Linked DNA regions of Homo sapiens: regions 1 and 3 are each linked to region 2. The links are contacts of gene promoters, found by promoter capture Hi-C in blood cells and fetal thymus (Javierre and others, 2016). All regions are on one chromosome and are shown on one strand. Each heading gives the region's core, a stretch centred on a gene start or on the middle of the fragment in contact. The rest is flanking DNA. Distances are from core to core; before and after follow the strand shown. Region 1 overlaps TRAPPC8 (trafficking protein particle complex subunit 8). Region 2 holds the start of RNF138 (ring finger protein 138). Region 3 overlaps TRAPPC8 (trafficking protein particle complex subunit 8).

Evidence for each region. Contacts are between HindIII fragments. The CHiCAGO score rates a contact against its expected background, and 5 or more counts as called.
Region 1: a contact is called between a fragment that was not itself captured here and the fragment with the promoter of RNF138 in region 2, in 12 of 17 cell types (total CD8 T cells, total CD4 T cells, naive CD8 T cells and 9 more). The highest score is 13.5, in total CD8 T cells.
Region 3: a fragment that was not itself captured here is called in contact with the fragment with the promoter of RNF138 in region 2 in 16 of 17 cell types (total CD4 T cells, total CD8 T cells, non-activated CD4 T cells and 13 more); the score reaches 19.6 in total CD4 T cells.

The regions. Positions count from the first base shown.
Region 1 is chr18:31,876,416-31,880,540 of GRCh38, forward strand. The region is part of intron 12 of TRAPPC8 (trafficking protein particle complex subunit 8); the gene reads right to left. Among named protein-coding and RNA genes, the nearest start is that of TRAPPC8, 65 kb to the right of the region's middle. The HindIII fragment of the contact is 214 bases long and covers 1,779-1,992 here.
Region 2 is chr18:32,088,866-32,093,410 of GRCh38, forward strand. It overlaps RNF138 (ring finger protein 138), which reads left to right and starts at 3,009. Exons shown (of 8, transcript NM_016271.5): 1 at 3,009-3,370; 2 at 3,835-4,021. The coding sequence starts at 3,912. It overlaps LOC124904278 (a long non-coding RNA gene), which reads right to left and starts at 3,080. Exons shown (of 2, transcript XR_007066327.1): 1 at 2,990-3,080; 2 at 2,410-2,637. It also overlaps a transcript of RNF125 not described here. RefSeq lists an enhancer at 2,708-2,757 and a silencer at 3,428-3,847. The HindIII fragment of the contact is 10,157 bases long and covers 773-4,545 here.
Region 3 is chr18:31,922,942-31,927,105 of GRCh38, forward strand. All of the region lies in intron 2 of TRAPPC8 (trafficking protein particle complex subunit 8), which reads right to left. Among named protein-coding and RNA genes, the nearest start is that of TRAPPC8, 18 kb to the right of the region's middle. The HindIII fragment of the contact is 1,651 bases long and covers 520-2,170 here.

The DNA of each region.
Region 1 (4,125 bases), core at 636-3,135, 210 kb before region 2:
GGAGGCGGAGCTTACAGTAAGCCAAGATTGTGCCACTGCACTCCAGCCTGGGCTACACTGCGAGACTCCATCTCAAAAAAAAAAAAAAAAAAAAAAAGATCACTTACTAGGGACCTCAGATCCTCAGATGCCAGTTCTCCTCAGAAAGATCAAAGTAACTAATTATCCAAACAGAAAACTGAGAAAAGACAGCCAGGATATGATGAAGAACCCATGGAAAGAAACTAGAGTGCAGGAAAGAAAAACAACAAGAGTTTGGCAGGGATCGAGTGCTGAGGAACACAAAACCCCATGGAAAGGGTAAGTGGGAGTACTTCTCTGCTGCCCTCACCCCTCTGACCATCTGTTCACCATCCAACTGATGGGGAGTCCCTCTGCCCTCATGATGCAGGACAACACTAACAGTGGCAGTTTGAGAACGTCCCAGGGACAAGGATGTGGGTGGCCAGCTCACACAGGCATGCCCGCCCTCCTTTCAGGCCTGAACTGAGACAGGAGATACCACTGCCCTGCCCAGGAAATCTCTGCTCTTGAGTCACCACCGCACCACCAGATCCCTAACATATTCACAACTGCTGTGACATTAGCAAGTTTAGGAGACCAGTGGGTCCCCAGAGAAGGTGTGAGACCCATGGAGATGTAACCGTTAATTTAGGCTGCCCCTAGGGGAAGGGGGGACAGTAGCCTGCCAAAGCCCCACCTTGAGACAAAGGTAATGCAAGCAAGCAACAATCGCTGAAGTGGGCAGCCCCAGCGGCTGGAAATGAACATGAAGAGGGGATCATTTCCCGCCCACCCCATCCACTGTTGTGAACACAGGAGAGGTTCTCCCTGCTGGGAGCTGGCAGACGTGTCCTTGGGGAAAGCACTTTTCATGCTTTTTGTGGTGGCTCCATCACAGCTAAAAGTGAGCCTGGCCGGGCGCGGTGGCTCACACCTGTAATCCCAGCACTTTGGGAGGCCGAGGCAGGCAGATCACAAGGTCAGGAGATCGAGACCATCCTGGCTAACACGGTGAAACCCCGTCTCTACTAAAAATACAAAACATTACCGGGGTGAGGTGGCGGGCGCCTGTAGTCCCACCTACTCGGGAGGCTGAGGCAAGAGAATGGCATGAACCCCGGGGGGCGGAGCCTGCAGTGAGCCAAGATCGCGCCACTGCATTCCAGCCTGGGCAACAGGGAGACTCCGTCTCAAAAAAAAAAAAAAAAAAAAGTGAGCCCATGGCCAGGCACGGTGGCTCACGCCTATAATCCCAGGCACTTTGGGAGGCCAAGGCGGGTGGATCACCTGAGGTTGAGAGTTTGAAACCAGCCTGACCAACATGGTGAAACCCCGTCTCTACTAAAAATACAAAATTAGCCAGGCGTGGTGGCGCGTGCCTGTAATCCCAGCTACTCGGGAGGCTGAGGCAGGAGAATCGCTTGAATCCAGGAGGCAGAGATTGCAGTGAGCCGAGATCGCACCATTGCACTCCAGCCTGGGTAACAAGTGCAAAACTCTGTCTCAAAAAAAAAAAAAAAAAAAGTGACCCCATGCCAACTGGGCTTGCAGGAAGGGCAAGGCCCAATTCCCCCTCCCTACAGAGAAGCATCCGGGCAACAGAAGGTGGACAAGCTGCAAAGCTGTTTACTCTGTACTAGAGGAAGAAGTTCCGCCCTGAGCCCATTTTGGTGGCAGCTGCCCGTTTTGGTGGAAGTGTACTCTGGTCAGAGCCTAATGGACAAAGTCTACATGAACTGATGGTTGTGAGCCCTCTGACCGGGGCGTGATAAGGAAGCTTCTGTCTGCTCAGGATGAGCAACTGGTGCACCCCATCCCAAAAAGGATCAAATAATCTATAAAGTAAATATTATCAGACTAACAACAGACTTCTCAGAAGAAACCTTACCAACAAAAAGAGATTTGGGGCCTGTTTTTACCCTTTTTAATGACAAATAAAAACAAAAACAAAAAAACTACTAGCCAAGAATTTTACAGCCTGCCAAACTAAGCTTCATAATTGAAGGAAAAAATAGTATTTCTCAGACAAGAAAATGCTAAAGAAATTTGTCACCACCCGACCAGCTCTACAAGAAATGCTCAAAGGAGTTCTAAACACGGAAACAAAAGGATGATACCTGCTAACCATAAAGATACACGTAAGTACAAAGTTCAAAGATCCTATAAGGCAGTTATACAATTGGGACTACAAAGCAACTAACAACATTATGACAAATACAAAACCTCACTTATCAATATTAACTTTGAACAAAAATAGCTTAATTGTTCTACTCAAAAGACAAGATCCAAGCATATGCTATCTACAAGAGACCTATCTTCTGTGTAACGAGATCCACAGGCTCAAAGTCAAGGGGTGGAGAAAGATCAATCACGCAAATGGAAAACAAAAAAGAGCAGGGGTTGTTATTCTTGTTATCAAATAAAATGGACTTTAAACCAACAACATAAAAAAAAAGACAAAGAAGGGAATTATATAATGATAAAGAGTTCAATTCAACAAGAAGATTTAACTAGCCTAAACATATACACACTCAATACCAGAGCATCCAAATTTATAAAACAAATACTACTAGACTGAAGACAAGACAAGCAGCCATACAGTAATACTGGGGGACTTCAACACCCCACTGACAACACTAGACAGATCATCGAGGAAGAAAACTAACAAAGAAACTCTGGAATTAAATCGGACTTTTGACCAAATGGACCTAATAGACGTCTACAGAAGATTCCAACTGACAACTACAGGATATACATTTTTCTTATCTGTGCATGGAACATTCTCTGAAGTTGACCATATACTGGGTCACAAAGCAAGTCTCAAAAAATTTTAAAAAGTCAAAATCATATCAAGGATCTTCTCAGACCACAGTGGAATAAAATTAGAAATCAATACCAGGAGGAACGCTCAAAACCATACGAGTACATGGAAACTAAGCAACTTGGTATTGAATGACTTTAGGGTAAACAATGAAATTAAGGCAGAAATTTAAAAAAATTTTGAAACAAATGAACACAGAAACACAACATATCAATACCTCTTGGATACAGCAAAAGCAGTGTTAAGAGGAAAGTTTACAGCACTAAATGCTTATATCAAAAAGACAGATCTCAAATTAATAATGTCACATCTAGAGGAAACAGAAACAAGAACAAACCAAGCCCAAGCTGGCAAAAGAAAAGAAATAAAGATCAGAGCAGATCTTTATTCTTTAAATGAAATTGAGACCAAAGAAATCATACAAAGAATCAACAAAATAAAGTTATTTGAAAACACAAACAAAATTGATGAGACTACTAGGCAAGATTAAGCAAGAAAAAGAAGAGATGATTTTAATAAGCACAATCAGATATGACAAAGGTGACATCACAACTGATACCACAGAAATACAAAAGGTCCTCAGAGAATACTATGAACCTCTATGCACACAAACTAGAAAACCTAGAGGAAATGGGTTAATTCCCAGAATCATACAATCTCCCAAGACTGAACAAGGAAGAAACTCAAATCTTGAATAGGTCATTAAGTAGTTACAAAATTCCATCAGTAATTAAAAAAAAAAATAAATAAACAACCAAATGAAGCCCAAGATAGCTGGATTCAAAGCCAAATTCTACCATATGCACAAAGAAGAGCTGGTACCAATTTTACTGAAACTATTGAAAAAAAAAATATATATATATATATATATATATATATATATTTTTTTTTTTTTAAGGAAGAAAGATTCCTCCTTAACTAATATCATCCTGATATCAAAATCTGGCAAGGACATACACACAAAAAGAAAACAAGTCAATACCCATGATGAACACAGATGCAAAAACCATCAATAAAATACTAGCAAACCAAATCCAGCTGGACATCAAAAAGTCAAATTAATCACAATCCAGTGGGTTTTATTCCAGAAATACAAGGATGGTTCAATATTTGCAAACCAATAAATGTTACTCACCACATAAAGAGAATTAAAAACCATATGATCATCTCAATAGATACAGAAAAAGCATTCAATAAAGTCCAAAATCCCTTCATGATAAAAGCTCTTAACAAACTAAGCACTGTAAGAAACATACCTAAAAATAATAAGACCCATATATGACAAACTCACAGCCAAAATC
Region 2 (4,545 bases), core at 1,759-4,258:
ATCCAAGAGACTGTAGGAGAAGAAACAAAGTAGGGGCTTCATTCTGGGGGGGAAAGGTGGTTTAGATGGGTTGGAGTGTGTGCCCTGGAAGCACATGGCCTTACAGGCTGTTCAGAACCAGAGGGAGAACCACAAAGGATGTCATAGACAGTAGTTGTGTTGAGAGCCAGAGAGCCTGCTAAGGAGCCTGCCATGTTGAGGGTTAAGGAATTGGAAGGTGATCGTGGCAGGAATCAGAAGGTTTTACAGTGTTGGTGAAGCTAGGACATATCTCAGGGCCTTGGCCCAGCTGAGAGACAGGTCCGAGCAATCTTCATCAGCAAGTTTCAGCAAGAGAACACCCAGGACACATTACATCTCAAGGAGCAGAGAAAATTAGTCTGGCTAAAGAAAATCCGGCAAAAATGCAAAAGAGAACTTGCAGATTTCAGGAGCCAGATTCCCCTATAGTGCCTTGAGTTCATGTCAGCTACCCATCATCCTCCCTTCCCTTCTCCCAAATGCCATTCTGAGGGAAGCCCACTGAGAGGGACTGACTGGTTTAACCCAAACTTAAAGGAACTGTTTAAATTATTGCAGCACAGTTTACCAAATCGGTCTACATCTAGGGTTTTCCCTTCTAATGACCAAAGGCTGAGGACATTTTATTTACGCAGCTGAATGTATTTTGAGTAAATCTATGACATTCTTATAAAAATATCAAGTAGCTTTTCACCAGAAATGTTGCCAAGAAAGAAGATTGTGTCATTGGTAATTGCAACTTATTTTTTTAAGCTTAACTTTCCAAGGGTATCTATATTTTTCTTATGTCCAAGTTTTTGCTGGATTTCCACATATTGCCAGCTATATGCTTACGTGTATACCGAATGACTTATTAGAATATATGGGGGAGTGATACAAATATGTTTGGATTAGACATAAGTAAAGCTGCCGTTGCAGAGAAAGAATGAAGCAAATAAAATTAGGGTCACAAAATTAATGTTATGGTTAGATATTCCCAATGAATAATGGGAAACACTATTATACAGAAAATACACCTTACTTCCTAAATGGTCAGAATGAATGAAATGAGTGGAATTATCAAAAAAGTAAAATGTAGGCCAGGCACAGTGGCTCAGGCCTGTAATTCCAGCACTTTGGGAGGCCAAGGTGGGCGGATCGCTGGAGGCCAGGAGTTCGAGACTAGCCTGGCCAACATGGCAAAACCCTGTCTCTACTAAAAATGCAAAAATTAGTTTGGCATGGTGGTGCATGCCTGTAATCTCAGCTACTTGGGAGGCTGAGGCAGGAGAGTTGCTTCAACCTGGAAGGCGCAGGTTGAAGTGAGCTGAGATCATTCCACTGCACCCCAGCCTGGGTGACAGAGTGAGATTCTGTCTCAAAAGAAAAAAGAAAAAAAGTGAGTTTTCTTCTCTGGGCTGTTAAAAATTTGAACTCAAAGAACCATTTTATAAGTGAATGTGAAAAGCACCTGAACTACTGCTATTAGCTGCCCCTCTCGTCACGTGCTCTTCCTCCTTCCAGGAAATCTGAAGCTAGTATTAGCTTTCTTGTCTTGCTTCCACTGCGCTTGCTGCTAAGGAGGAAAAGCAACAAAAATACAAAATATAGTTTGGTAGAGGGAATTAGCTATTCATTGGACAAATTATTATTATTCTAGGAATCAATGCTTTTGAGATGTACATTAAAACCCATTTCCTCCATAAAGTTTTCTGTTAACTCTATATATTTCTAATCATTCCATTTCCTATCCTCATTATAGCCATCGTTTAATGCAAAATTTAATACTTTGGCAAATACCATTTTTTCTCTCTCATTCTGATAGATATGTAATAATGTAAACAGGTTGAGAGCAAAGTTCATGACATCTGCATAACACCTAACAATGCCAATGTCAACATAGACAATAAATGGCAGAATTGATTTAAATAGTCCCTTAAATGGCTTCTGTTTATTCATTTAGACCATGGGGGAGGGTTTTAACAAAGGATGGTAATAAAACCTTTCTTTTCTCTGAAGCTAATTGTAGATGCTGTATAATGTTCCAGATTTTCCTTAGCTTCTTTCACGTCATTGTGGATCCCATCTTATCGATTTATCCTTTTTTTGTTCTTCTTTTTTTTTGAGAGTCTCACTCTGTCGCCAGGGCTGGAGTGCAGCGGCGCGATCGCGGCTCACTGCAACCTCTGCCTCCCGGGTACAAGCGATTCTCGTGCCTCAGCCTCCCGAGTACCTGGGATTACAGGCTCCCACCACCATGTCCGGTTAATTTTTGTATTTTTAGTAGAGATGGGATTTCATCACGTTGGCCAGGCTGGTCTTGAACTCCTGACCTCAAGTGATCCAACCGCCTTCGCTTACCAAAGGGCTGGGATTACAGGTGTGAGCCACCGCGCCCGGCCTTTTTTCTTTCTTTTTTTTTTTTTTTTTTGAGACGGAATCTCACTCTGTTACGCAGGTTGGACCATCTTATAGATTATCAATTGTACAGATAATTGCACTCCGGCCTGGGAGACAGAGTGAGTACCTGTCTCAAAAAATAAAATAAAATAAAATAAAATTAAAAAAAACACTTAAATTAGTGAATAACCTTGGTGAAAAGCCACGTCCATGCTTCTACGGCATTTCTCTTCAAAGCTAAAAAAAAAAAGAAAAAATCAAAAATCAACCCAAAGGTGTAGTAGAAGACTGCATCTGCGACCGTATTTAAGCATCGGTCATGCTGTTAAAGGAGAAAGTGGACATCCTCTCAAGGAAACTTTAATCCTGCCCCCAAAGGATTAAAATCCCGTAACAAATATTTGTTTATAACACATCTTGACAAGATCAAAACATTCTGGTAGGGCAAATAGTAAAGACTAAATCTTGAACATTGACGAAAACTTCCTGAAAGGCCCAATGTATTTGACAGGAGAGGTAACTGGGGTCCCGGGCCTAGCGAGGCGGGGCGGGGAGGCGCAGGTGTCACCGCGGGCGCCCAGCTGCTTACGTCACAACCCGCGGAAGGCGCCGTGCGCCGGTTGCTATACAGGCCGCACTTCACACCCCGTGCCTCCCCGCCTCTCCTGGCTCCTCCGCCCAGATCCCCGGCGCTCCCGCGTTCGGTGACGGCCGGGTAGGCTGTAGGCAGCGCAATGCCAAGACAGAGCTGCTGGCGGCGGCGGGCGAATCTCCCTGCACCATGAGCCTCGGCTCCGGCCCCGTTAGGGGCCGATAAGCACAGCGCACGCCGCCCTCCATTTGCCCCGGGGCCTCGGCTGCGAAGATAGCGGCGGCCGGACAGGAAGCTCGAGGAAAGCGCTGGGCCGGGTCTCTACGAACACGTGAAGGAAAAGCAGCTCCGTCCACAACGCCGCTTCGGGGCTCCTAGGTGAGAGTCTCCCCGGCGGAAGCGTGGAGGGGCCGGGGTGCCGGGAAGCGGGGCGGGGAGGAAGCCGCGGACACGGGCTGGGCACTCGGGGCTCGGGGTCGGGGTGAGTAGAGGCGGAAAAGCAGTGAAAAGGGAGGCCTTGGGCGAAGACGGGGGCTGAGGGCGGGGCGCGAGCCCGCGCCTGGAGCCCGGTGAGGGCGTGGCCTAGAGCGTGAGGCCGCGTCCTGGGGCGGGGTGAGGGGCGAGCGGGGCGGGCCCACGGCATGCTGCGAGCCCAGCCTCCCGCCAAGCACCGTCCCCCATCCAGCCCCCTGTGGGAGGAGCCGTGGGAGGGGTCGCCTCTTGCCCGGCGCGTGCGGCAGTAGCGTCTCTGCGTTCGGCCCCGCCCTACCCAGGGCCCCGCCCCCTTCCTGGCGCGCGCTGTATCCTGATGCGATCCCCCTCCCCCCTCCGGGTTCATGTAGGGAGTCGGGCCCCGGGCCGCCACCGTCACCTCGGCCGCTGCCGCTGTCGCCATCGCCTTGTTTCCCCATCCCCCGCCATGGCCGAGGACCTCTCTGCGGCCACGTCCTACACCGAAGATGATTTCTACTGCCCCGTCTGTCAGGAGGTGCTCAAAACGCCCGTGCGGACCACGGCCTGTCAGCACGTGTGAGTAGACGCCCCCTCCCCCTCGCGGAGCCGGGTTGTCGCTTAGGCCCGGCCTCCGGCCCGGGACCCCGGGCTGCCGCCTGGCGGGAACCGAGCCCGCCGCGGCCTGCCCGAGCGTCGCTGCCCCGCGAGGTCCCGTTCCCCGCCCCTCAGAGTCCCGGGGCGGCCTTTTCCTCAGCCTCGGGGCCCGCTCCCCGCGTCCAGCCCCCTCAGCCCAAGCTCCCGCTCTCCCGCTCTCCCGCTCTCCCGCTCTCCCGCTCTCCCTGGCTTTCGCGCCCCCGGGGCAGTGGCCAGGCCGTTCCCTGCGGCGTCTTCAGGCCCCGGAGGCCCCTGTCGTCTCCGCCAGGCCCGGGAGGAATTGCAGGGATCTTGGAGCCTTTTTGTTTCTTAGCAACCCGGGTGAAGGCTGGGGTGTCGAGTGTCAAAAGCGGCCGGCGGTGCTCGCGCGGGCCCGCTCGCCCCGCGACCTGCCCTGCTTTCAAGTTTCCTCTTTCAGAACCTTGGTCCGTCCCCTCGGTCCAAGA
Region 3 (4,164 bases), core at 95-2,594, 170 kb before region 2:
AGGAGGCAGAGGTTGCAGTAAGCCAAGAGAGAGCCACTGAACTCCAGCATGGGTGACATAATGAGACCCTGCCTCAAAACAAAACAAAACAAAAACATGCAGAATGTACTGTTTTACCTGGTAAGGAAGGGTAATATGGTCTTCCTTCCTTTTAAAATAAGATGCAGCCCAAAATATACCATTCAAAGACTATGCTTGGATTTAACACATAATGCTGTAAGAGTAAACAGGATAATGGATGATAAAATAGATAACAAAAGTTGAAAAAAATAGATACATTAGACCTTCCTCATTTTAGAAAAATTAGACATGTCAATTGGGAAAAATACAAAACAGTACCTAAGTGGGGAAAAAAAGACAACAGAAACGAAGTAGGTGAGAAAAATCTAGAAAACTGAAACCATCACAAGAAATCCCTGTATATAACAGACTTTCAACTCCATCAATGTGTCTTTCCAATTACTGTACCAAGGAATAGCAGCTTTAAATGACCGATCTGAAGAAAACACGGCACTGTTAAGCTTATGAGGTAAATATCTAACATCTATTTCTTTAACAGAATGAATGAAAAGTATGCTGACTCACATTAATGGTGAAAATTAGAAGCATACATCTGAATATATAAGAATTAATACCTTATTAAAATGGATAAAATCACTTTTCTATGATCTCCAAAGAGTATTATTCTGTTTAATGAAATTTTACTAAAATTAACGTAGTACTTCATCGTATCTCATTCTCAGTCTTCATGGCCAACATAAAAATAAAGCTGAAAGGAGGTGCCTTTCAGTAAAAGGGAAAGAAGCTAAAAAAAAAAAAAACTGTTTTCTTCTGGTGTGTAGTTTAATCCTACTTAAGCCCAGGAGTTCGAGACCACTCTGGGCAACTTAGTGAGACCCTATCTCTAGTTCTAAAAATAATAAGGCCGGGTGTGGTGGCTCATGCCTGTAATCCCAGCACTTTGGGAGGCCAAGGCAGGAGGATCACCTGAGGTCAGGAGTTCAAGACAAGCCTGGCCAACATGGCAAAACTCTGCCTCTACTAAAAAAATACAAAAATTAGCCAGGCGTGGTGGCTCATGCCTATAATCCCAGCACTTTAGGAGGCTGAGGTGGGTGGATCACCTGATGTCAGGAGTTTGAGACCAGCCTGGCCAACGTGGTGAAACCTCATCTCTACTAAAAATACAAAAAATTAGCCAGGCGTGGTGGCGGGTGCCTGTAATCCCAGCTACTTGGGAGGCTGAGGCAGGAGAATTGCTTGAACTTGGGAGGCAGAGGTTGCAGTGAGCCGAGGTCGCGCCATTGCACTCCAGCCTGGGCAACAAGAGCAAGAATCCGTCTCAAAAAAAAAAATACAAAAATTAGTTGGGCGTCGTGGTGGGCGCCTGTAATCCTAGCTACTTGGGAGGCTGAGGTAGGGAGAACTGCTTGAACTAGGAGGCAGAGGTTGCAGTGAGCCAAGATCGCGCTAGTGCACTCCAGCCTGGGCGAAAGAGCAAGACTCCATCCCTCCCCACCGAAAAAAAAAAAAAAATGGCCAGGAGTGGTGGCTCACACCTGTAATCCCAGCACTTTGGGAGGCCAAGGCAGGTGGATCACTTGAGTCCAGGAGTTCAAGACCAGCCTGGCCAACATCATGAAACTCTGTCTCCACTAAATATACAACTAATAATACTAATTTTTTTAAATCTGCCTGAAGCAGGAGAATCGCTTGAACCCGGGACGTGGAGGTTGCAGTGAGCCAAGATCGCACCACTGCACTCCAGCCTGGGCAACAACAGCGAAACTCCGTCTCAAAAAAAAAAAAAAAAAAAAAAAAATCCGCCTGAAGAGTTAAGCTATAGTAATTGCCTCCACCTGCTTTTAAATGCAAATAGCAATCAATCCTCCCGTATGAGGAGATGTTGGCAGGGATCTGAGAATGCAAGTAATATAATTAGATAAAACAATTTCCCACAACCAAATCATAACTATGTTCCTATAAATGATCTGCCAAACCACTTTAATAGAAAAAAAAGGCCCAGGACACAGCCAGAGAGCAGATTTCAGAATCCTTCTCTGGATAAACTAAATGGCCTCAAAGAAAAAAACTATAAGTAATAAAAATTGGGCAACCCTTAAACCTATTCTTAGCCTTACCACCCAATAAAGAAGTCTACTAACTGATAAGCTTTCTTATACTCAGTCAGGGTTTTAATGCCTCAATTTGAAATAGAAAATAATGCCTGGTCTAACCAAAGATTTGAGGTAAGTGTCCAACATGAAAAAAATCAAAACAAATAAAAATAATACGAATGAAAAAAAAAGGCACAGGATAGAAGAAAACTTAAAAAAACAGCCAACAACAATTTATTACTATCTTCAGAGTTAAGACACTATAACATAAAACCTTAATAGCATGTCACAATAAAGGAAAATCTAGAGAAGAAAATAGCTCCAAAAAAACCCCAAAAAGACACCAAACATTAAAACTTCAATAGAAGGATCAGAAGATAAAGTCAAGGATATTCACACCCAGAAAAATAAAAAGACAGAGATAGACAATTTTAGAAAAAAAGAACATTAGAGGATCAACTCAGGAAGTTCTACATCCAACTAACAGTAGTTTCAGAAAGAACAGAGAGAACAATAAGGGAGAAATTAACAAAGAAAGAATACAAGACAGTTTCTCAGGGCTAAAAAGTGCATAACCAGACTGTCAAAAGAAGCTACTCAGTAAAATAAGTGAAAAAGGAGTTATAAACCCCAACGTGAAATTTCAAAATAGCAGGGATGAAGACCTTCAAAAACTTCTAACAGCTGGAGGGCTGGGGGTAATACATATAATGGCTTCTAGCTTTTTTAAGAGCAATGCTTGAAGCTAAAAGAAAGTGGATCAATTCTGAGGGAAATGATTTATAACTAACAATGTACACAGTCAAACCATCAATCAAGTATATAAAATAAGAACATTTTCCAACATTCATTCCTCAAAAATTTTATTTTCCATGCACCCTTTCTCAGGAAGCTACTAGAGATGTCCTTCACCATACTAAGGAAATACACACAAAATATATATAAATGAAATACTACAGAGAAGTGAAGGGAAGGAAATCCTCAGGATGACAGCTGTGGAGTGGGCCTCGGACAGCAACCAGTCCGACATAAAATTGAACACCATTTCCCAGCTTTTATTTCATTATATTCTCTGTGTTTTACAGCTTTTTTCTAATCAATCCTTTCCCCCGATTAAAGTATTTTTTAAAATAACACCACAATTGTATTGTGTATCTATTTATGCATGGAGACCCTTTGGAGAGCCACAGACCACTGTAATAGCTAAGATTTTTTTGTCCCCCAAGGACCAATTTTTACCACATAGGAATATCATCCTTAATGAGAATATATGCAGTAACAATAGAGATTTCTTGAAGGAGCCATTGATAAATGGGTTATTTGACAAATTAATCTCTCGAGTAGAAAATACAGTTGAAGAAGTCTGAGAAACTAGCAACAGACACAAAGAACTGAGCAAGATGTTTTGTTTTGGTTTTTTTTTTTTTGAGACAGAGTTTCGCTCTTGTTGTCCAAGCTGGAGTGCAACGGTGGGATCTCGGCTTACTGCAACCTCCGCCTCAAGCAGCTGGGATTACAGGAGTGTGCCACCACGCCCAGCTGATTTTCTGTATTTTTAGTAGAAACAGGGTTTCACCATTTTAGTCAGGCTGGTCTTGAACTCCTGACCTCAGGTGATTCAGCCTCCCAAAGTGCTGGGATTACAGGCGTGAGCCACCACAAGATGTTTTTAAAAAGACAATTACTAACTCCTGAAAACACAAAATACTGTATCAGAAAGCCCAATAATTGGCTAAGCAGTGAAGAAGTGAATGACATTTAGTCATATTATAAGCAGTGAATATTAACCAAAAACTATGAGATGGAGTGGAAAGGATAGACAGTAATTAAGCCAAATCCTTATCAATGATAATGAGAAGTCAATAAATAAAACTTATTTAAATTTAAAACTTATTACGCCATAGACAGCCATATAAAAATATTACTTAGAAGCACATAATCAATACCCGAGGAAAAGACTACAGAAATTGGTGGGGCAAGGTACAGATCACTGTTGTTTTTTCCTTTAAGTCTTTTTATCATTTTGTCTATGTACACATATCATTTT